5 separate regions of the Homo sapiens genome follow, and all the other regions are linked to region 4. The links are contacts of gene promoters, found by promoter capture Hi-C in human tissues and cell types (Jung and others, 2019). All regions are on one chromosome and are shown on one strand. Each heading gives the region's core, a stretch centred on a gene start or on the middle of the fragment in contact. The rest is flanking DNA. Distances are from core to core; before and after follow the strand shown. Region 1 holds the start of LOC124902292 (a long non-coding RNA gene). Region 2 overlaps CFAP77 (cilia and flagella associated protein 77). Region 3 overlaps CFAP77 (cilia and flagella associated protein 77). Region 4 holds the start of AK8 (adenylate kinase 8). Region 5 overlaps TTF1 (transcription termination factor 1).

The links. The method cuts DNA at HindIII sites, captures the fragments that hold promoters and counts their contacts. A contact is called where the count stands out against the background at its distance.
Region 1: a contact is called between a fragment that was not itself captured here and the fragment with the promoter of AK8 in region 4, in 1 of the 25 tissues and cell types used here (aorta).
Region 2: a fragment that was not itself captured here is called in contact with the fragment with the promoter of AK8 in region 4 in 2 of the 25 tissues and cell types used here (liver and mesenchymal stem cells).
Region 3: a fragment that was not itself captured here is called in contact with the fragment with the promoter of AK8 in region 4 in 1 of the 25 tissues and cell types used here (lymphoblastoid cells).
Region 5: a fragment that was not itself captured here is called in contact with the fragment with the promoter of AK8 in region 4 in 1 of the 25 tissues and cell types used here (dorsolateral prefrontal cortex).

What each region holds. Positions count from the first base shown.
Region 1 is chr9:132,371,316-132,375,756 of GRCh38, reverse strand. It overlaps TTF1 (transcription termination factor 1), which reads left to right. Exons shown (of 11, transcript NM_007344.4): 11 at 1-209. LOC124902292 (a long non-coding RNA gene) reads right to left here and starts at 958. Exons shown (of 3, transcript XR_007061828.1): 1 at 872-958; 2 at 620-773; 3 at 97-516. RefSeq lists an enhancer at 2,721-3,015. The HindIII fragment of the contact is 6,869 bases long and covers 1-4,441 here.
Region 2 is chr9:132,475,965-132,480,895 of GRCh38, reverse strand. All of the region lies in intron 1 of CFAP77 (cilia and flagella associated protein 77), which reads right to left. Among named protein-coding and RNA genes, the nearest start is that of CFAP77, 68 kb to the right of the region's middle. The HindIII fragment of the contact is 6,160 bases long and covers 1-4,931 here.
Region 3 is chr9:132,552,173-132,557,021 of GRCh38, reverse strand. All of the region lies in intron 5 of CFAP77 (cilia and flagella associated protein 77), which reads right to left. Among named protein-coding and RNA genes, the nearest start is that of BARHL1, 28 kb to the left of the region's middle. The HindIII fragment of the contact is 4,506 bases long and covers 1-4,201 here.
Region 4 is chr9:132,876,645-132,881,739 of GRCh38, reverse strand. It overlaps AK8 (adenylate kinase 8), which reads left to right and starts at 3,456. Exons shown (of 13, transcript NM_152572.3): 1 at 3,456-3,568. The coding sequence starts at 3,485. It overlaps SPACA9 (sperm acrosome associated 9), which reads right to left and starts at 2,842. Exons shown (of 4, transcript NM_001316897.2): 1 at 2,726-2,842. The HindIII fragment of the contact is 8,008 bases long and covers 1-5,095 here.
Region 5 is chr9:132,394,301-132,398,666 of GRCh38, reverse strand. It overlaps TTF1 (transcription termination factor 1), which reads left to right. Exons shown (of 11, transcript NM_007344.4): 4 at 341-526; 5 at 2,156-2,234. Among named protein-coding and RNA genes, the nearest start is that of TTF1, 10 kb to the left of the region's middle. The HindIII fragment of the contact is 8,735 bases long and covers 1-4,366 here.

The DNA of each region.
Region 1 (4,441 bases), core at 1,326-3,825, 510 kb after region 4:
GAGCCAAGATCGCACCACCGCATGAGAGAGAGAGATTACTATTTCTTGTCCCTTTTTCTCAGTTTGATTATATTTATATACATATGTCAGTAAATCTGTTTTCAGTATTGATGTTTAATAAAGAATGTACAATGGCCAGAGTTCTACTCTTTCCTCTGGAGCATTAAAATATATTGCCATTCCTATTAAAACGTATTTGAATGTGAAAAGAGAGGAACATATGAATTGATTTAATAAATAATTACAACTAATGGTTTTATTAAATGACAAAAGTTTCACAAATCCCTCTAATTGTAGCAGAGAATAGGGTCACATTCTATGAACATTTCATTACGTGAGTTCAGCTATATGGGTACTGAGCGAAAATGAGAAAGGTAACAATTTCGAAAAAGCATGCCCTTCTGCTGTGTTTCCAGTTGTTTAGATGTCTGCTCTCCATGTATATATGGATCACATTCGTGTTAGATGGAAGTTGTGAATCCACTGTTCTCTCAAACCGGTCTCTTTCCCTTGTACCTATCATAGTGTACATAGCTCAACTTCCTGAGTTTGATTCTAGTGTTCAAAGATAGGTATTTTTCATATAAGATGTCCTGTCAAAGCAAGTCATTGAACTTACCTGGTATTTAACTGAAAACAAACAAAAATCAGCAATCTCTTCCATTGCTTGTAGAAATACTGACTTAGGCCAGGCACAGTGGCTCACGTCTAATCCCAGCACTTTGAGAGGCCAAGGCAGGAGTATCACTTGAGCCCAGGAGTTCGAGACCAGCCTGGCAACATAGTGAGAACTTGTCTCTGTAAAAAGGAAGGAAGGAAGGGAAGGAGGGAGGGGTGGAGGGAGAGGAGGGGAGGGGACACTCTGTTATACTTATCGAAAGGTGCTATCCAGGTGTGGTAGTGCAGCCGATAGTCTCAGCTACTCAGGAGGCTGAGGTGGGAGGATCACTTGAGCTCAGGAGTTTGAGGCTGCAGTGAGCTATGATGGTACCATGTACTCCAGCCTGGGCAACAGAGACAGACCAGACTCCTAAAAAAAAAGAAAAGAAAAAAAAATGTGTCAGTGTCAACACACAACTCCTGTTGGATATTCAAAGATAATTTCAATGGTGGGCTATTCCATCAATCAGGAAAGCAAAACCACCCGAGATATTTCAAATGGAGAAGAACTTAATATAAATTTTATGTTCCTTTTGGAGGGCAATTTGGTAAGATACATCAAAGCCTGAAGAGGCCGGGCATAGTGGCTCACACCTGTAATCCTAGCACTTTGTGAGGCCAAGGCAGGCGGATGACTTGAGGTCAGGAGTTTGAGACCAGCCTGGCCAACATGATGAAACTCCATCCCTACCAAAAAAAAAAAACAAACAAAAAAAAATTAGCTGGGCATGGTGGCGTGTGTCTGTAATTCCAGCTACTTGAGAGGCTGAGGTAAGAGAATCGCTTGAACCTGGGAGGCAGAGGTTGCAGTGAGCTGAGATCACACCACTGCACTCCAGCCTGGGTGACAGAGACCCTGTGTCAAAAAAAAAAAAAAAAAATTAACAGAGGCTGGGCAATGGTGGCTTATGCCTGTAATCCCAGCACTTTGGGAGGCTGAGGTGGGTGGATCACTCAAGGCCAGGAGTTCGAGACCAGCCTGGCCAACATAGTGAAAACCCATCTCTACCAAAAATTAGCCGGGTGTGGTGGTCTGCGCCTGTAGTCTCAGCTGCCCAGGAGGCTGAGGTGGGAAAATAACTTGAACCTGGGAGGCGGAGGTTCCAGTGAGCCGAGATCACGCCACTGCACTCCAGCCTGGCGACAGAGTGAGACTGTCTCAAAAAAAAAGTGAGTCAATGTTCTGGTTTCAGATCCTATAAATCTCACCTTTTACTAAAGAAAGTGACTCAGAAAGCGAACAAAGGTAAAAAGAGAAAGACAATACCCACCTCACAAGAACTAAGGCTGTGGAACATGTACAATTGGTTTTGTTTTTGTTTGTTTTTTGGAGACAGAGTCTCTGTCACCCAGGCGGGAGTGCAGTGGTGTGATCTCGGCTCACTACAACCTCCGCCTCCCGGGTTCAAGCAATTCTCCTGCCTCAGCCTCCTGAGAGTAGCTGGGATTACAGGCGTGAGCCACAGCACCTGGCCCATAAAATTGTTTTTAAACAGCCTTGACTATGCATTATTCGAGTTCTTGGCTCAGTTCTTGGTCATTTTGTCCTTGTCCCTAGTCATGTGTTTCAGCTGTTTGTCTTCACTGATGGACTTCATTACCCAACAAAGTGGCCCAGCATGGCAGATACCAAGTAGGTCAGAAATTAGCATCTTAGCCAGACCAAGACATCCACTGACTTCATAGCACCACCTTCACTTTGACAAGTGCAGCTCAACAAACATTGGTGAACACGTGCAGTGAGCCAGGTACTGTTAGGAGCTAAAAAGACAAGCATTGACAGGCCAGGCACAGTGGCTTACGCCTGTAATCCCAGCACTTTGGGAGGCCGAGGCGGGAGGATCGGGAGGTCAAGAGTTCGAGACGAGCCTGACCAACATGGTGAAACCCCATCTCTACTAAAAATACAAAAATTAGCTGGGCCTGGTGGTGCGTGCCTGTAATCCCAGCTACTCGGGAGGCTGAGGCAGGAGAATCACTTGAACCCAGGAGGCAGAGGTTGCAGTGAGCCGAGATACCGCCACTGCACTCCAGCCTGGGCGGCAGAGACTCCGTCTCAAAAAAAAAAAAACAAAAAACAAGCATTGACAGTACAGCCTTGGGGCCTGCTTTCTTGGAGGCTACACAGTCCAGCACTTCCTGAACACCATTTCCTGTTTATTTCCTGAAATACATGAGCAGGCATTCTCAGCCTCCCTCGGTGCTATCAGGTCACTCCCAGCTTACCCAGGCTGTCACATGGTCCCTTGCCACAATCACCTTCCTGAACACCCTCCATCCTGGCATTCTCTCCCCCTGAGGCACTTCCCTGTTTAAGACACCAGATCTGGGTGAGCCCTTCCCTTTGCCTGTTACCTGCACCTGAAGAGCTGAATATTCCCAGAAGAAAATTACAACTGAGCTGGCAGATTTCACTTTAATGATGATAAAGCTCAAACGGACACAATGTTACCAAAGGATGCTACTCTGAATCTCTAGTAGGCTTGCTTTGCTTTTCCCCACATCAGCTCACGTGCACAGTCAGCCCTCTCACACTCCCTTTCTGCCTCATGTATAATCCACTTAGGAAAGTGAAGCCATAAGACATAAGCTCCCTCCTCCCTCCACCAAGCAGACAAACCTACCTCCAGCCACACTTACGCCGATCCCTACACCTAAGCTCCTGCAGCCCATCCCCCTGCTTTTTTTTTCCTTTTTTTTTTAAAGAGACAGGGTCTCACTGTGTTGCCCAGGCTGGAGTGCACCATCACGACTGATTGCAACTTTGACCTCCCGGCCTCAAGCAATCCTCCCACCTCAGCCTCCCATGTAGCTGGGACAACAGCAGGCATGTGCTACCACACCAGCTAATTTTTATTTTTTATTTTTGTGTAGCGACATGGTCTCCGTATGTTGCCCAGGCTGGTCTTGAACTCCCGGGCTCAAGTGATCCTCCCACCTCTGCCTCCCAGTGTTGAGATTACAAGGTGTGAGTGCCTGGCTACCACCTGCATTTTCTGAGATTTTGATATTTTGTTGATCCTTCTCCTAAATTGTCAGCCTTCTGTTCTGGACCATTAACACCATACAAACAGGCTCTAGTGTAACTCATCTTAATTTAAAATATGTGTGTATATATGTATATATATATGGACTCAATTAGTTTCTGCTACACTCCTCCCGCTGCACTCAACATTGAAAAGTTAGTGTTCCTCAGAGCTCAATTTTGGGCTTCTTCACATTCTCTCCATGCCTTGAAATAATGTGTATATGCTGATCCCTCCTCCCAAGTGTATAGTTACAGGTCAGATTCTCCCCCGAACTCCAGGATAAAAAAATTCATCTGCCTACTCACTATCTCCACTCAGGTATTACACCTGAAATCTATTATATTACAAATAACTTTCTTTCTTTCTTTCTTTCTTTTTAGATGGAGTTTTGCTCTTGTTGCCTGGGCTAGAGCGCAATGATGTGATCTTGGCTCACCGCAACTTCCTCCTCCCGGGTTCAAGCAATTCTCCTGCCTCAGCCTCTCAAGTAGCTGGGATTACAGGCATGTGCCACCACACCTGCCTAATTCTGTATTTTTAGTAGAGACGGGGTTTCTGCATGTTGGTCAGGCTGGTCTCGAACTCCCGACCTCAGGTGATCCGCCTGCCTCGGCCTCCCAAAGTGCTGGGGTTACAGGCGTGAGCCACCGCGCCCAGCACAAATAACTTTCTAATTGCTGACACCCATCTCAAAATCTGTCACTTGTCCCCCGGGCTTCCTCATCTCTGCCAGTGGTATTGTTACCGGGCAT
Region 2 (4,931 bases), core at 1,821-4,320, 400 kb after region 4:
CTGCTCCTAGCCTTGGCCTCATCTTATGCCCTCTCGCTCACCGTCCGCTTTCTGCCCTGGGCCTTCTTTCGGCTCCTGGAACTTTCAGGCCCCTTCCTGCATGAAGTCTGTGCTCAGGCTGACACATCCCTCTCCTCACCGGCGCCTGGCCCCGCTAACTCCTAGCTGAAATGTCACCACCTTGGAGAAGCCCCCGGACTCTGTAGCCTCCGTGAGAAACCCCAGCCACAGGATGTCACCTATTTTCCTTCCTGGACCCACGTCTTTGAGATGAATGGATCATTCAAATGGTGGTTTCTGCCACGTCTCACTCTGCGGCAGGTCAGCTGGGTGAGCACGGGACAGACCTGTCTCATTTGCTGTGGCGTCTCCGGTGCCCGGCACACAGTAGGTCTTCAGCACATGCTCTGGGATGCTCACGTGACTGAGCACCAAGGGGTGGGGCACACAGGCACTACTATGGAAGCTTACTCCTCCCAGGCCTGGGCCATCTGGGGCAGGTCTTCCAGAACAGGGTCTGGAATCTGTTCTCAAATTCCCTAGGGAGTTGAGCTATGAGGGCAAAAAGTGGGAAAGCCCTTTCCTGCCCTGCTGTTGACCCCACAGGGTTGGAGTCTCTGGACCCAGAGCAGGGTGGGTGGGCAGGGGAGCTGAGCAGTTTCCCACCTCATGACTAGCAGGTGGGCAGGGACCAGGAGCAAGAGGGAGTCTGGTGGCTCCTGGGGAGGGCGGTCCAGGAGAGCAGCCGAGGAGGCCCCCTCTCCTCTTCTCTGGCCTCAGTGGTCCCATCTGCAAAATGAGGGGGCTGAGCCGGTTGATTTTCAGGGTCCCCCCCACCAGCTCTGCCATTTCCTATCTGGAGCGCGTCTCCATCCGTGTCATCCAGAGCCGCATCATCTGCTTCTCCTGCTCAGGGAGGCAGAGGCGCACAGTGGAGAGCTCAGAGCCAGCCTCACCTGGGTTCCACTGCCACTCTCCTGCTTGATAGCCGCGTCACTTTGGCCAAGGACCTCACCCTTGAGCCTGTCTCTGGACACCACCCAATTCATAGGCTTGGTGTCAGATGAGAATATTCACTGCCTCTCACGTAGTAGGCCATTCTAAATATCTGCAGTAGGAAAATGTGGCCACTATTATTAGAGGGAGTTGATGCTACGTGTCCAAACTCCATCAGCAACATCTGTCCCTGGTGGCCAGCTCGGCCCACCTGCCCACACGCTTTCAACCAGGATGGCCTGAGCAAAGCCAACGGGGCCATCCTTGGAGGGAACTCAGGCCATGGCTCTGCAGCACATCCCTCCAGCCACTCGGAGGAGCATCACTGGTGGGAGGTGATTGGATCAGCAGGTTCAATGCGCTGCAGCAGGTTGGATGAATGAAGAGTATTTCAAGAACGCCACAAGGAGGACCTTGGCTCAACCAAACCAGGCCCAGCCCCCCAAGGCCCTCCCCCATGCACCCACCCAGCTGTGTCTGTATCTGAAACTGAAAACTGGAAACTCTGTGGTTCTGTGGTTGGGAGGATGGGATGCACGATGGTAGGATGAACAATGGTGGGATGAACTATGGGGGAAAAGGTCTGAGCTCCCTGAGGGTACCCAGGGCAAAAGATGGCTGAGCACTGTGAGCTGGGCATGAGGGGTTGTGCTGTAAATGCTTTAATGGGTGGCTTCTTAGATGCCATGGGGTTGCATCACTAAGGTAAAGATTCTGAGTATGTGGCATAATTGCTACATGCGAAAATCTATTTGTACTTAGCTTTTAGTCTTGAAAATTACCAAGCCCTGTGCTGCTCCTACAATTAATCATTAAAGAATTAGGAGTGAGAATACCCATTATTGTAAAAGACTCCAGCGATGGTCTTGATCCAACTTATAAAATAGACAGATTTGGTGCAACTGAATAATTTTCCTCCTCTCTGCACAAAATCAGGAATGCTAGTCATATTCAATGGCTGGAGTGAATGCTTACAAACTGGTTTATAGACCAGCCTATAATTACCAAAATAGAAAAAGAACAGCATTCTGTAATGAATGACAAGCTGCAGAGCGGAAATCTAATTTGGTCTAATTAAGCAGCCTTTTGTGAGGATTTGTCTTTAGATGAAAAGAGGGAGCCAAGGAGATCTAAATGCAAATGAACTCCATCATTTTGGTTTTAAAGGGCTAGGCTGAGATGAGCATCTCCGGCCCCAGCCCTCTCCTCTTCATTAGATTCTGAGTCCCCTCCTCGTCACCTCCAGCCCACGCCGGGCCCCATCTGCCTTGGAGAAGCCTCGCGTTTTTTGTCCCTGGCCTCTTATATCTTTTCAAATAGGACACCTCACGCCGACAGGGCTGTCAGGGAGCTTTTGCTTACTTGGGAGCAAATTTTATTTTGCCCAAAGTAATAAAAGCCAAGGGGGAGGCTGATTATTAGAGGAACTTGCTCCTGTTCTCGGCGAGTACAGCCTCTGAAGTCTGGAGGGTTGAATGCACACCCGGAGCCACTGGCACTGACAGAACAAATGGGGGGAACCAGTGCCGCGTCTTCACCTGTGAGCCTCGTGCAGGGTAAGCAGAGGCTGAGGCTTGGCTGCCATTCAGGACTCCCCAACACCACCCTCAGCTTCAGGAATTTGCCAGAAGGACCCACAGAACTCAGAAAAGCCACTGTACTCACGGTTATGGTTTATGATAGTAAAAAGCTACAGGCTAAAATCAGCAAAGGGAAGAGGCGCATGGGGCAGAAACCACCCCCCATGATCGAGTCACCTCCCACCAGGCCCCATCTTCAACATGTGGGGATTACAATTCCACATGAGATTTGGGTGGGGACACAGAGCCAAACCATATCACCTGGTTAGGTTGGGTAGACGAGAAGGAAAAAAAAATTCCACCACACTGACTCCTTAATCTCCTGTCTTAGTTTTCAAAGAAATTGCAAACATTTGGACTTTCTCATCTTCTAAACAAAAGCAAGTAGAATGACTGAGAGAGCAGGCAGCTGTGGCAGGGCCCCGCTGCCCCCAGATTGGTTGTCTCAGTGGCTCCTCCCTCGTGAATGCTGGTCCAGACTCAGAGGGTCTGGACTCCTAGGCTGCCCGTCTGAGCCTACGGCCTCCCACATCTCCATCAGAGTTTGGCCCAGTTCCCTACTCACCCCCTAGACACCTGCCTTGGCATTCAGATGCTCAAGAAAGGGAGCCAGGAGGCAGCACTGGAACCCAATGCAGGGCAAGAGAAGGCAAGAGCATCCTGTGGGGAGAAATGGAAGAGGCCCCCAGCCTGGAGTGCAGACAGCTCATGTGTGCTGAGCAATTACTATGTGCCCAATGCCTTGCCCAAGGCTAGGCGCTTGACCCCTGCTGACCCCTGACCCTTCCTGACCCGACCTCCCACTGGGAACTGCACCCCTGCCTGGCTTTGTGTTTCTTTGTAGCACCAATCAACAACTCGCTATGTATTCTACTGATGAATTTGGGTCATCATCTTTCTCTTCTCCCTAAAACAAGCTCTGTGGGATGGGGTTTGGTGGCTGGTTTGCTCACTGCGCTGTCTCCAGGGCCTGTAGTTCTTGGCACGTAGTAGGTGCTCAATGCATCTTTGCTGAATGAATGAACAGAAGGCTCGTCGTTATGACCTGTGAAGCAGGTCTACTCTTGTGCCGGGTTTACAGATTAGTCAGAGAGGTGACATGTGCCCAGGGTCACCTTGCTAATCGCCAGAGGCAGAGCTCAGTAATCAACTAGGTGTCCCTCATCCTGGCCCCACTGTTGGTGCCTCCCAGGCTTCTGAGCATCCTGGCACACAGAGAAACCAGTCAGCCTGGCACGAGACACACAGGCAGATGTACGAGGCTGCTTGCAGCTCCGGCAGCCCCAAGACCAGAGGAGGTTGGCGTCACAGCACCAGCGGCTGGGAAGACCTGATCATGCATTCCTGGCCCCAAACCATCGCCTCTGTATCCGTTTCTTGTGGCTGCTGCAGCAAATCGCCACCACCTTGGTGGCTGAAGGCAGCAGAAATCTCACCGCTCCGGAAGCCAGAAGTCTGAAATGAAGGTGTTAGCAGCAGTGGTTCCTTCTGGGGCTCCGAGGGGGGACTCATTCCAGGCCTCTCTCCCGGCTGCTGGTGGTTGCTGGCAGTCTGCGGTGCTCCTTGGCTTGTGGCTGTATCACTCCAATCTCTGCCTCTGTTTCCACATGGCCTTCTCCCCTGTGTGTCTCTGTGCCTCAAATCTCCCTCCCCTTTCTCTTGTCAGAACACCAGTCATTGGGTTTAGGGCCCACCCTACATCCAGTATGGTATCATCTTGAGAGCCTTAACTTGATCACCTCTGCAAAGACCCTATTTCCAAGTAAGGTCACAGCACTCATTACCCAGCACCTCGTGGGAACCATCCCAGTACCAAGCACTGCATCTAGATGAGCTACACCCATCTGCTCAGACAGACACCACCTGTGTGCCCCTATTACAGCTTGTGGGGAGATGGAAGATCAGAGCTTGAAGACAGACATAAGCAAAGTTCTGGGGACCCAGAGACTGAAGACAGCTCACCATCCAGCCCCACAAGAGGAGGGTGGGTCACTAGGGGAAGGTTTCTCAGAGCATGCGGTATGGGACACAGTGAGTAAGGGTTGAGTTAGACTTTTCTGATAGTCAATCTTGAGGGTGTTCCTGGAAGCAACCAACCCCAGGACCAAGCAGAGGATAGACACTTACAGAACAGCTGGGCATAGAGGAACGCCACAAGGGAAGTCTTACAGGCCACGAGAACTCTGAGAAGCAAGCTCATCTGCCTGCCAGGCTCGGGCCAGACCTCCCAGAAGAGGTGGCATTCGAGAAAGACTTGGAATGCTGAATGCAGAGCTATGGTGCAGGATTTCACAGAGCAGGCCAAGATGGCAGAAAAGCCTGGACAGAAATGCAGGCAGCGGCAAATGATCCAGC
Region 3 (4,849 bases), core at 699-3,198, 320 kb after region 4:
AGCTGTCAAACAAGAAAAGAATTTAGCGCCGGAGCCACGAAACTTCCATCGGCTCATTAAACCCAACAGGGCCCGGGCCTGGCGTGGCGAAGGAGACGCGGGGCCTTCCGTTTTGTGTCAGTAATTTGCGGTGGAGGAGGCGGAAGAAACAGCCAGCGCCAAAGGGGCCTGGGGGCTGGCTGGGGAATCGTTAGCGCGCCAGGAGCGGCCTCGGCTCCTAATTGGAAGCATTGGGCATTATCAACGGAGGATTTGCCTCAGTTCCCTGACAGCTCGTGGGCCCAAAATGATCGCCCACTTGTCAGTGTAAAAGACCATTAAAAACAAACCATTTTGATTTAATTGGAGGCGGTGCACCGCGGGGCCAGGTGAGGGGCTCGTCAGCCCGGCTCCCCCAAGCTGCCACCCCCCTCTCCCTCTGTGTGATGGGGCTCGGGGGGTGGGGTGGGAGAGAGTGTGTGTGTGTTTTCCAGACTTTTCACCTTTCAAAAACTGCCTGAGAAAGGAGTGAATGGGAGATGGAGGAAACTTCACAAAGACAGTGAGGCCGCTTTCAATGGGGTTGTCAACAAAGGCCCTGACAAGCTGAGCCGCCGGGGAGGGGGTCCTCCCTTCTTTGCAGAACCCAGATGATGGGAGGCTGCTCAGCTCTTTCTTCTGGAGGGGTCCTGCCACAACCTGCCCACCCCCGCTTAGAAATATCAGGACAGGGGAGGTCACAGCAGAGCCTGATCTTCAGTGGGGAGGAGGACTTTTTCTTTTATCGTGAAGACTAAGAAGAAGTTAGTGAAGGGACTGTGTCGACGGAGGCCCTGCTGAGGTGTCTTTGTGAATGGGACGGCCCCTAGAGATCTGGGGTAGTGTCTCATCAGGGTTCCCCCAGTGGAGGCCAGGGTGCTGACGATGCCTGCTTGAGAATCCTACATTGTCTCAGTATGAAGAGGGCGCTTGTATCAATATTAACTTAAACTCCTGGTGGGTTCTCCCACCGGGGCAGGTGCCTCCAAGCACACGGATCATCTATCTGTGCGCGGAACCTGAGTGTGACTCGGAGTGGAGATTGCCTGATGCCAGGGACTGTATGTTTTGCATGTTGATTCTCGGTATCGTGTACGCCGTGGGTGCTTGATAAATATTAATTGGCACTTGCCAGATCTCAGGTCTATATGTTTGTATATTAATCTCACCCCCATCTCACAACGCGGAGATCTCATTTGCTGCTTTCTGCTTCTCTGACAAGACAACACATGCAGGACCACACAGGGCTGGGGGGTGTGTTAGGGAAAGGGCGGGAGGCACGTCAGCTGATCCCTTCCTAAGCCTCCACTCTTCATTCTGATGAAGGATTGGGCTGGGAGGAGACACCAGCTCCCTGGTGAGCATCAAATTCCAGAGCTCCAAATTTTACTGCTGAATTTAGACAATGGGGATTCCTTAATTACTTTCTCTGGAAATTTACCTGACAGTGCTTTCTCAGGTAGCACAAGGTGCTTATCCAGCCACATGGTTCCTCGGTTGACAGTCTTTGATTTTGTGCTCGGTTGCAAATTAAGTCCTTTGCTGAGCCGTCCATGCAGTGCCCGTCAGTACTTTATTGCTCATTAATATAGGCTGTTGAACAACTTCTGAGTTACTGCCAGGGAAGCTGGGGACACACTCAGATGTTTGGTGTCCTCGGCCCATCGGGGTGGAGTGTACTGCAACGAGGTTTGGTGTTGTTATTCCCCTTTTATCTTATTGGAATAATGACCAGGAAGGATTTTTTTCTGGTATCTTTTAAGAAGGAGCAGAACCTTTCTGTGGTTGACGAGGCTAAGCCTGACAAGTCACAAATAGGACTATTAGAGCTAAGTGTCCTCAGCTAGATAGCAAAGATGTTAATGCCATATTGTGGGCATGGTTCTAGGGAAATGTCCGCAGACAGGAGGCCTTCAAATGTCTTGGGGTAACTCTACTTTTAGAGGCACCCAGTAGACACCAAACAAATCTTGGCTGGATGGTTGGATGAACAAACAGATGGACAGATGGCTGAGGATGGATGGATGGATGGATGGATGGATGGATGGATGGATGGATGGATGGGTGGATGGATGGATGCATGCATGCATGCATAGATGGATGGATAGATAGATGGTTGGATAGATGAATGAATGGACAGATGGATGGACGGATGGACAGATGAGTGGGTCAGGAGTCTGGGGATGAGGCAACACAGCCCTTAGGAATGCATCCAAGATTCAGGCACCCTGAAGATCTCTGCTTTGCTCAGCTTAAACTCTAAGTGGAAGAAGTGTTTTACTTTCTTCAGTAGTTGTACCCTGTCTCCTTCCAAGTGATTTGAAGGTATCTGGCGGATTGCACGCAAGGTGAAACAAGGTATTTAAGGGCTGGGCATAGTGGCTCATGCCTGTGATCCTAACACTTTGGGAGGCCAAGGCGGGCAGATCTCTTGAGCCCAGGAGTTCAAGACCAGCCTAGGCAATATGGTAAAACCCCATCTCTACAAAACATAAAAAAAATTAGCCGGGCATGGTGGTGTGCACCTGTAGTCCCAACTACTTGGGAGGCTGAGGTGGGGGATCACCTGAGCCTAGGAAGTTGAGGCTGTGATTGTGCCACTGTGCTCCAGCCTGGGTGACAGAGTGAGAGCCTGTCTCAAAAAAAAAAATAAATAAAATAAAAATAAGGGTTGCATAAAGCATAGTCTGAAGAAAAGTGTAGCAACTCTCAGGCCCCTGGTTTAAACAGATTCTAACCCTTGCTCAATTTCTGCCACATGAAGCCAAACGGAGCACATTCCATCACGTCGAGCATGTTTTTTCCACAACAGAAGGCATGACAGTGCACTCGATGATTAGGGACATAGGGCTTTGAGTTCCACAGAGCTCAGTTCCAATCCTGGTCCTATCGCTTTCCAGCTGTGTGACCAGGGGCCTCAGTTTCTCACCTGCAAAGTAAGGGTCATACTACCCATCCCGTGGGGTCATTGCCAAGCCCCTGGAATGGTGCCTGGCACACAGTGTAGGCATTGAAGACATGGTGGCTTGTACTGTTATTACTACTATTAGTATACACGAATCCGACTAAGCTTCTTCCTGAAATTGCCCTCCAGCAGGGAATTTTCACGGAGGTTCTTGTATTAAGTGATTCAAGTGGCGTTGATAGACAGTTTCAGTCACAATTTTATTTAAAAATATATAGAAATGCAGTGCAGCTTGACAAATCTTCCATGCATGTGGATAAAGGTAGAGAATGCAGCATGGACTGGTGGAGACCGTGGAGCCTAGGCCGTCCACTGTTGTTGCAACGTGGGGTTCCCCCTTCCAACATTCAGAACTCTGCCCTGGGGTGCAATCGAGACCCTGGTTGTCTATGAAGAAATGGTATCTGACTTTGGGAATTTGCAGGGCTGTCATGTGGAAGGGAGAGAAGGTGATTCCATGGGGATCAAGAAGCAAGAAACACAACAAGGAGGTGGAAGGTAGAAGGCAGATTTCCACTGCACTTGAAAAAGAGCTTGCTATGGACTGAATGTGTCCACCCAAAATTCGCATATGGTGTTTGTTTGTTTGTTTGTTTGTTTGTAGAGACAGAGTCTCACTTAGTTGCCCAGGCTGGTCTTGAACTCCTGGCCTCAAATGATCCTCCCACCTCAGCCTCGCAAAGTGCTGGGATTACAAGTGGGAGCCACCATGCTCAGCCAACAAAAAGCGTATGTGAATCCCTGACCCCCAGTGTGATGGCATTGGAGATAAGGCTCTTGGGGAGTTGATTAGGTTTAAATGGGATCGTGAGGGTGGGGCCCCCATGATAGGATTAGCGTCCTTATAAGAAGAGACACCAGAGTGTGTGCTTCCTCTCTCTCTCTCCAGCAAGTGAGGACTCGGTGAGAAGGTGCCTTGGCTATAAGCCAGGAAGAGGACCCTCACCAGAACCTGATCATGCTGGCACCCTGACCTTGGACTTATAGTCTCCAGATCTAGGAGAAATAAACATCTGTTTAAGCTCCCCAGTCTATGGGATTTTGTTAGAGCAGCCTGACTAAGACAGAAGTTCATAAGCCTTAGGGCTGTTTAACAGACAGAGGCGGTCTCCAACTGCACATTTCCCTTTGAAAGCCCCATCATGCCTCATGTCAAACATATGAAAATACATCCACCTGCCACAGTAAACACATATTTGAACGTAACTGTAAGAGTGGAGTTGACACTGACCCTGAGAGCTGGGGCAGCTGGCTTGCTGAAAATACAGGTTTGGTGGCTGTCCCAGACCCACTGGATCAGAGTCCTGGAGAGGCCCTGGACTCTGCTTTTTTTTTTTTTTTTTGAGATGGAGTCTCACCCTGTCACCTGGGCTGGAGTGCAGTGGCGTGATCTCGGCTCACAGCAACCTCAACCTCCCAGGTTCAAGCAATTCTCCTGCCTCAGCCTGCCGGGTAGCTGGGATTACAGGAGCACACCACCATGCCCAGCCAAGTTTTGTATTTTTGCTAGAGACAGGGTTTCACCATATTGGCCAGGCTGGTCTCAAACTCCTGAGCTGAAGTGATCCTCCCGCCTTGGCCTCCCAAAGTGCTGGGAGATTACAGGCATGAGCCACCGCACTGGGCCTTCGACTCTGCATTTTAAACATCTCCTCAGAGGATCCCAGGCAAAGCCAAGTTTTCGAATAACTCATCTAAAGGAGCAGCTTCCAGGGCCTCGTCCCTCCCAGAGGCTTTGTTGCTCCATGACCGTCCCCTAGCCAGGCCTGTGCCACGCGCTTCACACGCATGATTGCACTTGGTCCTCTCTGTTGCCATCCCCACTTCACAGATGCAGACCTGGGGCGGGCATGAGGCAGGCTGGGA
Region 4 (5,095 bases), core at 2,207-4,706:
CAGTGAGCCATGATCGCAGTACTGCACTCCAACCTGGGTGACACAGTGAGACCCTGTCTCAAAAAAAAAAAAAAGCATCTTGAGTAGCTGGGATTACAGGTGGGTGCCACTACACCTGGCTATTTTTTGTATTTTTAGTAGAGATGGAATTTCACCACGTCAGCTAGGCTGGTCTTGAACTCCTGGCCTCAAGTGATCTCCCTTTCTCAGCCTCCGAAAGTGCTGGGATGATAGGCATGAGCCACTGTACCCAGCCCCAAAAACGTTTTTTAAAGAATGGGTCTTGCTCTTTCACCCAGGCTGGAGTGTGGTGCTGTGATCACGACTCACTGCAATCTTGACCTCCTGGGCTCAAGTGATCCTCCCGCCTCAGCCTCTTGAGTAGCTGGGACCTCAGGTATGTGCCACCATGCCTGACTACCTTTTTTCTTTTTTTTTTTTTCTTCTTTTTTTTCTTTTTTTTTTTTCTTTTTTTTTGTAGAGATGGGGTCTCCCTATGTTGCTCAGGCTGGTCTCGAACTCCTGGGCTCCAGCGATCCTCCCACCTCAGCCTCCCAATGTGCTGGGATTAGAAGCATGAGCTGGCAACATCAGAATTTGTAAAGAAAAGATTGCTGGCTGGGCGCGGTAGCTCACGCCTGTAATCCCAGCACTTTGGGAGGCCGAGGTGGGTGGATCACGAAGTCAGGAGATTGAGACCATCCTGGCCAACACGGTGAAACCCTGTCTGTAATAAAAATACAAAAAAAGTTAGCCGGGCACGGTGGCGGGCGCCTGTAGTCCCAGCTACTCGGGAGGCTGAGGCAGGAGAATGGCGTGAACCTGGGAGGCGGAGCTTGCAGTGAGCCGAGATGGCGCCACTGCACTCCAGCCTGGGCGACAGAGCAAGACTCCATCTCAAAAAAAAAAAAAAAAAAGATAGCTGCACCTTGCCATACTGAGGCCTGAGGCAAAAGGAGAAATCAGTAACACTGAGCCTACCTTTACTTAAATTTTTGACATGTTATTCTAAATGGATTTTAGGCAGCATTATTTTTGATTTTTAAAATATATTGCATTAAAACGTGAAAAACATCCACCTCAATGATTGAATTGCCGGCACTCCCTTAAGTTTTGTGCTGAGGGTGCATCACTTGCCTTGCCCTAATGTTGGCCCAGGGCTTACAAATGACTCAAAGGTGAAGCTCCAGAAAAGTGAGAGAGAGCACATAGGTGGAGTTCCAGGGAGAAAGGGCGTGTGCCCTTTCGGCCTGGCTTTTCCCTCATCATGGTGGGAGCTGTGGTTGGTAGTGGTTGAGAGGAACTGACTCTGTTCTTGATCCTAGCAACTTGTGACATGCACGCCAGGAATGTCATGAGAGGAGCTGTAATAAGCTATCCGAAGTGATCGTCCCTTGAACGAGAGCCACTGCAGCCAAATTAGTGTGGATGAAGGGCACAGGGGACGGGCACTTCTCGATCTGGGGGAGGAGGGAGGAAAAAAATGATTACCCATAGGTTTTAGGCTTTAATTGATTTGTATTTTTCCAGGCTGCTAAAGAAGATTGAATCATGGTAGGAAAAGCGCCTAGGGCTTAAAATAAATGAGGAGAAAGGCAAGTCATTTCAGAAATGTCCAGGAAGCAAAACAAACCTCTCCAGTGCAAATGGCAGGCATGGCTGTTGTGTTCTTTGCTCAGGGGGAGGCAGCTTCCTTTTCTTCCCCAGCTATCTTTACAGTTGGGTTTGACAAGCCTACCAAGGTGTACACACTTTGAGGAAGCGGTTTGGAGGGGAAGAGGCAACAGTGCTGGCTTTTACGTTGGGAGGGCATGTCTCTGGGCTGATGGCTGGTAGAAAAGGGCTTTAGCTGGAGCCTGGATGCAGAGTTCATGCCCTGGCTCTGCCCAATCTAACCAGTGGCCCTAGCCAAGATTTCCCCCTTTTCTGGGCCTCAGTTTATCCATCTGTCAAATGAGAGAGTTTGGATTAGCCTCTTCTTCAAGAGGCCTTCTGGTTCTAAGGCTGTATGATCAACAACTGATGAGAAAAGAAGCCCAGAAAGGGGAAGTGACTCACCCAAAGTTACCCAGCCAACCACTCCTCATTGTTCTAATCCTCCAACTTCTCATCTGTAAAATGGGAATGAAGGTGCCTATTTCACAGGATTGTTGGAACGATTAAATGAGATACTACTACTAATAGTAGCCCCATATATTGTGTGCTTACTGCATGCCAATTACTCTCCAATACATTAGCTCCTGAAATCCTTCAGCAGTTCCCTCTTCACAGGGCAGGAAAGTGAGGCACGGAGCAAGCAGAGAGTTTGCCAAGCTCACACAGTAAGAAGCGGAGCCAGAACTTGAAGCTGGGGCTGTCTGCATTGACTGTGCCATTTTCCCTCTCCATAAGGTACAGAGACAACAGAATTTTGCCGAGAGCACAAAGAGTTCAACAAACTCTTACAGCTCCTACGATTAACGGCAACAGACAAGAGCTAGAGATCCCAATTCAGTGTTGCGACTAATAAAATATCAAGCTGCCCCGTACCACTGGGAATTCATACGACTTAAAAAGCTCCGTCTCCAGCGCGAACCTTCCCCTCGCCCCCACCCCGAGACAGCTGTGCAGGCCCCTCCATCCTCCGGACCCCTCCATCTTTCCATCCTCCACCCCAGCTTCCAGTTTCTGACCCAGAGGCCGGGGTGGGGTCCGAGTGGGCCCACCCACACTCATCCCTGTTTACCCTTGCTTGTCCTAGAGCGCTCTTCGCTCCACGGAGCACCCAGAGAAGTTGGAGTGACTCCGTGAGTGTCGGTGCCCCGGAGGGTGGGGAGGCCCGTTCCAGGACTTGGGAGGCGAGGGTGGGTGGGGACGTCGGGCGAGAAGGGGCGGGGCCGCGGGCGTGATTGTTACCGCCGGTGCCATAGCAATCGGGTCACTTGGCGGCTTGGCCAGAGCCGGGGAGCTGGGAGGGGTCTACCGGGGCTCGACTCTAGGAGTTGGGCTGAGGATTTCCACCCGATCCTCGAACCTCCGGCCCATCTCATGGACGCCCCTCCCCCTTCAAACACCCTCCCCCACATTTATTCCCGCGTCTGTTTTAAAGATGGGTAAACTGAGGCACAGGGAGCCGGGCCGGGGAGCACTGACAGAACCAGAAGCAGGTTCTGCCTCCCGTCCCCTCGGAGGGCCGACTTGCCCCTTCTGGGTTTCGTCGGGGGTCTCAGATACGAGGAGGCCCAGCTGGAAGCCACCTGAGGGTGTCCCCCGCTAAGATGCGCAAATGGGAAAAGCGAGGCCGGGGTTGGGGAAAGAACTTGCCCGAGCCGCAGAGCGCGTCAGCCGGGGAGGTCGGGGCGGGGGCGACCCGCGCGACCGAGGATCGGGTATCTGGGCCCGGCGCGGAGCCTGCAGGGCGGGGCCGCGGCGCGTGCTGATGACGCAGTCGGCGCGGCGGCCCTAGCGACGCGGTTACTAGGGAGCGGCGAGCCGAGACGGCTACATGGACGCCACTATCGCCCCGCACCGTATCCCCCCCGAGATGCCCCAGTACGGGGAGGAGAACCACATCTTCGAGTTGATGCAGGTGACCGGACACCCCTGCCCGTCGCGACGCTGGCGGCGGCTCGGGAGCCTCCACTGCGACGTCGGGTGCGCGGCCGGGACCCGCAGCTGGGGCCGAGTCGCGCGCCCACGAAGCAGCCCAACTCGGGATGTACGATTCGTGTGTCGCCGTGACCCCGAGGGGGCCCTCGAGCTGGGGACGCTCCTGGTCCTGCCCGGGTTTGCCTCAGGCGGACCCAGGGGGAGGAAGGGGGCCACTCGAGCCGGGATTTGGTCCTGGCTGTGCCGCCAGCGGGCCTTATGGTCTGGAACCAGTCCTTTCCTTTTCTCGGTTTCCCCACCTGTGAAATGCCAGGTTGCAAGAGGTGGTCTCCCAGGGGCTCTCCCGGCGCTGACAATTACCATCTGTCGAATTTGTGGGGAGCCTCTCGGCCCAGGTTTCTGAGGTGGGCATTGTCCGAGTTCAAGCTGGCATCTCCATCCTCAGAGAGGGCCGCCTCTGGGACAGCAGCATCTCCCACCTTGGTCCCTCCTCCTCAGGGCCAGACGTCCCCGGCAGCTCCGAAGCTCTCATTCTGGCTCCAGGCCTGACTGGGCCCCCAGCTCACCGTGTGACTTTGGGCGAGGCCCCGTCCCCGCCAGGGCCCCAGTTTTCCCTTTTGCACGTGGTGGAGGTCAAGGCTTTCAGGAGCTGGAGGGGAAGAACTCTCAGCCACTCAAAGGTTCTGAGAGGCAAGGGGAAGCTGGAGCTCAGTTTTCAGATCATTTGTCTGCTTCCCAGGGTACACCCCATCCCCAGGGGCATGGCATGGAGGGCATAGTGGTGTCTGTGGTCATTTGAGGTTCTGCCCTGCACACTAGACAGCTGAGCCCAGACGAAGAAACCCGTGTCTGCACCTCCATCAAACACATTTCCCTCGGAAAGTGTTAACTGATAGAGGGAGAGCAAGAGATTCCTAAAACTGCTTGAGTGGCCAATCACAAATCAAATAGCTAGCTGGGTTAGAAGTCAGCAGGTCAGGGCAGGATGGGGGATCATCTGGAGCCCTGTTGTCTGCTCTAGAGAACCTGGTGTGTTTTCCACATTGATTGTTGGAGGAATTGCCCAGGAAAGCTTTTATTGATTTTGAAACAGGGTCTTGCACTGCTGCCCAGGCTGGAGTGCAGTGATACAATCATGGCTTACTGCAGCCTTGAACTCCTGGGCTCAAGCAATCCTTCTGCCTTAGTCCCTCCAGAGTAGCCGAGACTACAGGTGCAGGCCACCATACCTGGCTAATGTTTTTTTTTTAATTTTAGTACAGACGAGGTCTTGCTATGTTGCCCGGACTGGTCTTGAACTCCTGGGCTCAAACAGTCCTTCTGCCTCGGCCTCCCAACAAGAAAGCTTTCAGTCCAGTATTTCCAGTCCTTAGTCATCTGTGGATTCCCTCCATGTTTTTGACCATTTCCATTTTTTATACTTTTGATTTTAAAATAATGTTAGATTCACAGGAAGTTAAAAAATAGTATGGATTTCTGGTCTCCCCTCCCACATTGCCCCCGTGAT
Region 5 (4,366 bases), core at 1,206-3,705, 480 kb after region 4:
ACTTTGATCATGCCACTGCACTCCAGCCTGGGTGAAAAAGCAAGACCCTATCTCTAAAGAATGCATAAATAAATTTGAAAACTATTTTTTAAAAAGATAGATTAAACAGGAAAGGTCACTTTGGAATAGGATGACCCGGGAAGACATTGACAGAAGAGGTGTGGCTTGGGCTGAACCCTGAAGGAAAGGCCAAATCTGCAAGTGCGGGCAGGAGGGCGAATGTCAGGTGTTGGGACTGTTGGGCCGAGGTACTGTCATTGCTGATGAAAAACCAAGTCATAGGTTTGCTTTTGTCATTATTAACAATACACACTTTCTCCCTGTTCCTTCCCAATTCTAGGTGTCGCTATTAAATTTGGCAAGTTTTCTGTAAAGGAAAATAAGCAGTTAGAGAAAAATGTGGAAGACTTTCTAGCCCTGACAGGCATTGAGAGTGCAGACAAGCTGCTGTACACGGACAGATATCCTGAGGAAAAATCTGTGATCACCAACTTAAAAAGGAGATACTCGTTTAGATTACACATTGGTAAGTTTAGAAACAATCACCCTTTGACCATCCACAGCCTTCCAGCCATAAACAAGATAACCCATGGTAAGTGTTAGCACGGTACCTGGCCCATTGCCTGCAGGCGGCGCACATTAACTGCTGTGATGGCTGATGATATTCTTTTTTTTTTTTTTGAGACGGAGTCTTGTTCTGTTGCCCAGGCTGGAGTGCAGTGGTGCAATCTTGGCTCACTGCAACCTCCACCTCTGGGGTTCAAGTGATTTTCCTGCCTCAGCCTCCTGAGTAGCTGGGACTACAGGTGCCCACCACCACGCCCAGCTAATTTTTTGTATTTTTAGTAGAGACGGGGTTTCACCTTGTTAGCCAGGATGGTCTCGAACTCCTGACCTCGTGATCCGCCTGCCTCGGCCTCCCAAAGTGCTGGGATTACAGGCGTGAGCCACCGCGCCCAGCCCTGATGGTATTCTTATTGCCAGTCTGTACTTTCTGGGATTTGGAATGTGTTCATGTCTCCCAAGTTTAGGGTGAAAAATTAAATGATCAACTTTTACCTTTCTTCCTTGGCAATAGTTGTGGTTTTGGTTTCTCCTCCTGTTCCTTATTTATATTTTGTGTACGCTACACAAAGCACATCCTTATACGCACCATGGTCTCCCGTGTTTTTTAAGTGTGGCCATATGTGTGCTTTGTAACTGGAACCCTCCGACTGGAGGTGCTGCCTGTGAAGTTAGAAGGTCATGCTGTCATATGGGATCAGAGCGAAAGCAAATCTCTCTTGAATTTAAAGAGGATAATTTCTTAGGTGTTGTGTGGAATCCACGAAGAAAAGCAGGCTAGTACGCCCCCGTTGAGGGATTATTTCCCCTTAGAGTGAGAAAGTGAGAAAAGCTGATTTGGGAAAGATTATTGTTCATCTTCTGGAAAACTGTTACCCTGTATTCTCCACCGCAGTGTTCTCTTCCTCTTAATTCACATTATCTTAAAACTACTTTGCCTCTTAAGGATTCTTTCCACAAATTGCATAGACCGGAAGCTGAAGCCTCAGGGTACTAAGCATTTAGTTTTCGGAGATCTCCAAGGAAACTGGTGATTGTGTGTATCTGCTCTTCAAGACAGCTTTCTTAGGCCGGGCGCGGTGGCTCATGCCTGTAATCCCAGCACTCTGGGAGGCCGAGGAGGGCGGATCACCTGAGGTCAGGAGTTCAAGACCAGCCTGGCCACCAAATGAACCTGGCCAGCTGGTTCATTTGGTGAAGCAGCCTTCACCAAATGAAACAGCCTGGTTTCATTTAGTGAAACCCCGTCCCTACTAAAAATATAAAAACCAGCTGGGCGTGGCGGTGGACACCTGTAATCCCAGCTACTCGGGAGGCTGAGGCAGGAGAATTGCTTGAACCCAAGAGATGGAGGTTGCAGTGAGCCGACACAGTGCCACTGCACTCCAGCCTCAGTGACAGAGTGAGACTCTCTCAAAAAAAAAAAAACAAACAAAAAAAACAAGACAGCTTTCTTCAGGACGTAGGAAATCCCAGCCTTAACACGGGGCTTAGGATAGTTCATGTTGTTATAAGGGCTGTTCTGGGTTCCTTTTACAATTGCGACTTCATTTCATGTGAGTCCCTCTGATCACCTTTCTTCTGACTTTAGGTAGGAACATTGCCCGGCCCTGGAAACTTATATACTATCGAGCAAAGAAGATGTTCGATGTCAACAATTACAAAGGCAGGTAAGAAAAAAGTCTTAGCAGCTTGAGACAACATTTCTCTAGTCTTTGCTGATACCATAAATCAAAATATTCACAGCAGTGGATTAGCAGTAAAGATAACGCAGATTTGTGTGTGTGAAACCAGGTGGTGTATTTGTTGTCAAATGTGTGTCTTCATGGCCTTTTCCATCCCCACCTCTTTAGTGAAGCTGTGGTGACCTTCTGTTTCCTGCATCTGCAGCTTTCTCTACACTTTTTCTTTAGCACTCCCCATATGCTGCTTCATGTGCTGTGACTCCTGTTTACTCTGCTCTCTGCTTACGTCATAAGCTCCTTGTGAACCCAAACATCCCATCTCGACACATGTTCCATTCAGCACTTAGCAGAGTGCTGTGGGTTTTTAGTAACTATTTGAAGGTGGAGGTAAGTGCTGGGATTAGGTCCCTTAAATGCAGTTCAGTGGTATCAACCTGGGGTGCTTAACCCGGTTGTCATTCTCTCCTTCCTTTTCCCCAAATACAATATCGGATTATAATTTGTTTCCAACACATTTAAAAACAAACCAAACGTAGACCGAGCGTTTGGGTTAGCACGTTAGCACTCTGCTCAGGGACAGAAGGAGAAGCAGGAAGGTGTTAGCTCGGATTCCACGGCCCCCGAAAACTACCTTCTACTCAGCTGCTTGACCTCTCTCTGAGAGGCAGCTTTCATAAATCTTCTGGCAGCGGCAGTTGAGTTCTGCTTAGCTCTGTGATTGTAAACTGAGACATAGGTCATTACTTAAACTTCCAACGTTGATATGACCTCGGTTTCCTTTTTAAAATTTTTACAGAAATAAATCAGCCTTAGGTGAGGAAAGTTCACACACAGACTGAGACCTGCCCTGCCTGTTTTTCCCCAATCCTGAGGTTAGACAATTGTGAACAGAACTTTTAAGAAAATCCACTAAAGGTAACATTTTAAATGGGACTTACAAGAATGCTTTTGGCAGGTTAATGGTGGCAGCTGAGGTAATATATTTCCACCTGTGACACACACACAGGAATGAAATTTTTAGAGTAATTTTTAGAGTCATTCTAAAAATCTAACAGTTCATCTCTTTGTGCTGTATTATTTGTGTTGTGGTGATCATTTACCCTTAGAATATTTTTATAGCAAGCAATTCCTGACTTCAAAAAAATAGAAAGTAAAAAATCAAAGAATTATTATTATTTTAATTTTTAATTTTTGTTGTTGATTTTTTGTTGTTTTTTTCTTTTTTTGAAATGGAGTCTCAGTCTGTCGCCCAGGCTGGAGTGCAATGGCGCAATCTTGGCTCACTGCAACCTCCGCCTCCCAGGTTCAAGCAATTCTCCTGTCTCAGCCTCCCGGGTAGCTGGGACTACAGGCACCCACCACCACGCCCGGCTAATTTTTGTATTTTTCGTAGAGACGGGGTTTCACCATATTGGTCAGACTGGTCTGGAACTCCTGACCTCAGGCGATCCACCTGCCTCAGCCTCCCACGGTGCTGGGATTACAGGGGTGAGACACCGTGCCTGGCAATTTTTTTTTTTTTTTTGGAACAGGGTCTCCCTCTGTCACCCAGACTGGAGTGCAGTGGTGCGAACTCGGCTCATTGGAACCTCCACCTCCTGGGTTCAAGCGATTCTCCTGCCTCAGCCTCCCAAGAGGCTGGGACTGCAGGCGTGTGCCACCACACCCAGCTAATTTTTATATTTTTAGTGGAGATGAGCTTTCACCATGTTGACCAGGCTGGTCTCAAATTCCTGACCTCAAGTGATCCTCCTGCCTCAGCCTCCCAAAGTGCTGGGATTGCAGGCTTGAGCCACCACACCTGGCTTACAGCCATGATTCTTAATAGTGAAAAGTAGGCCAGGCACAGTGGCTCACACCTATAATTCCCAGCACTTTGAGAGGCTGAGGTGGGCGGATCACTTGAGGTCAGGAGTTCGAGACCAGACTGGCCAACATGGTGAAACCTTATCTCTACTAAAAATACAAAAATTAGCCTGGCGTGGTGGCAAACGCTTATAATCCCAGCTACTTGGGAGGCTGAGGCAGGAAGATTGCTTGAACCTGTGAGGCAGAGGTTGCTGTGAACCGAGATTGCGCCACTGCACTCCAGCCTGGGAAACACAGCAAGACTCCGC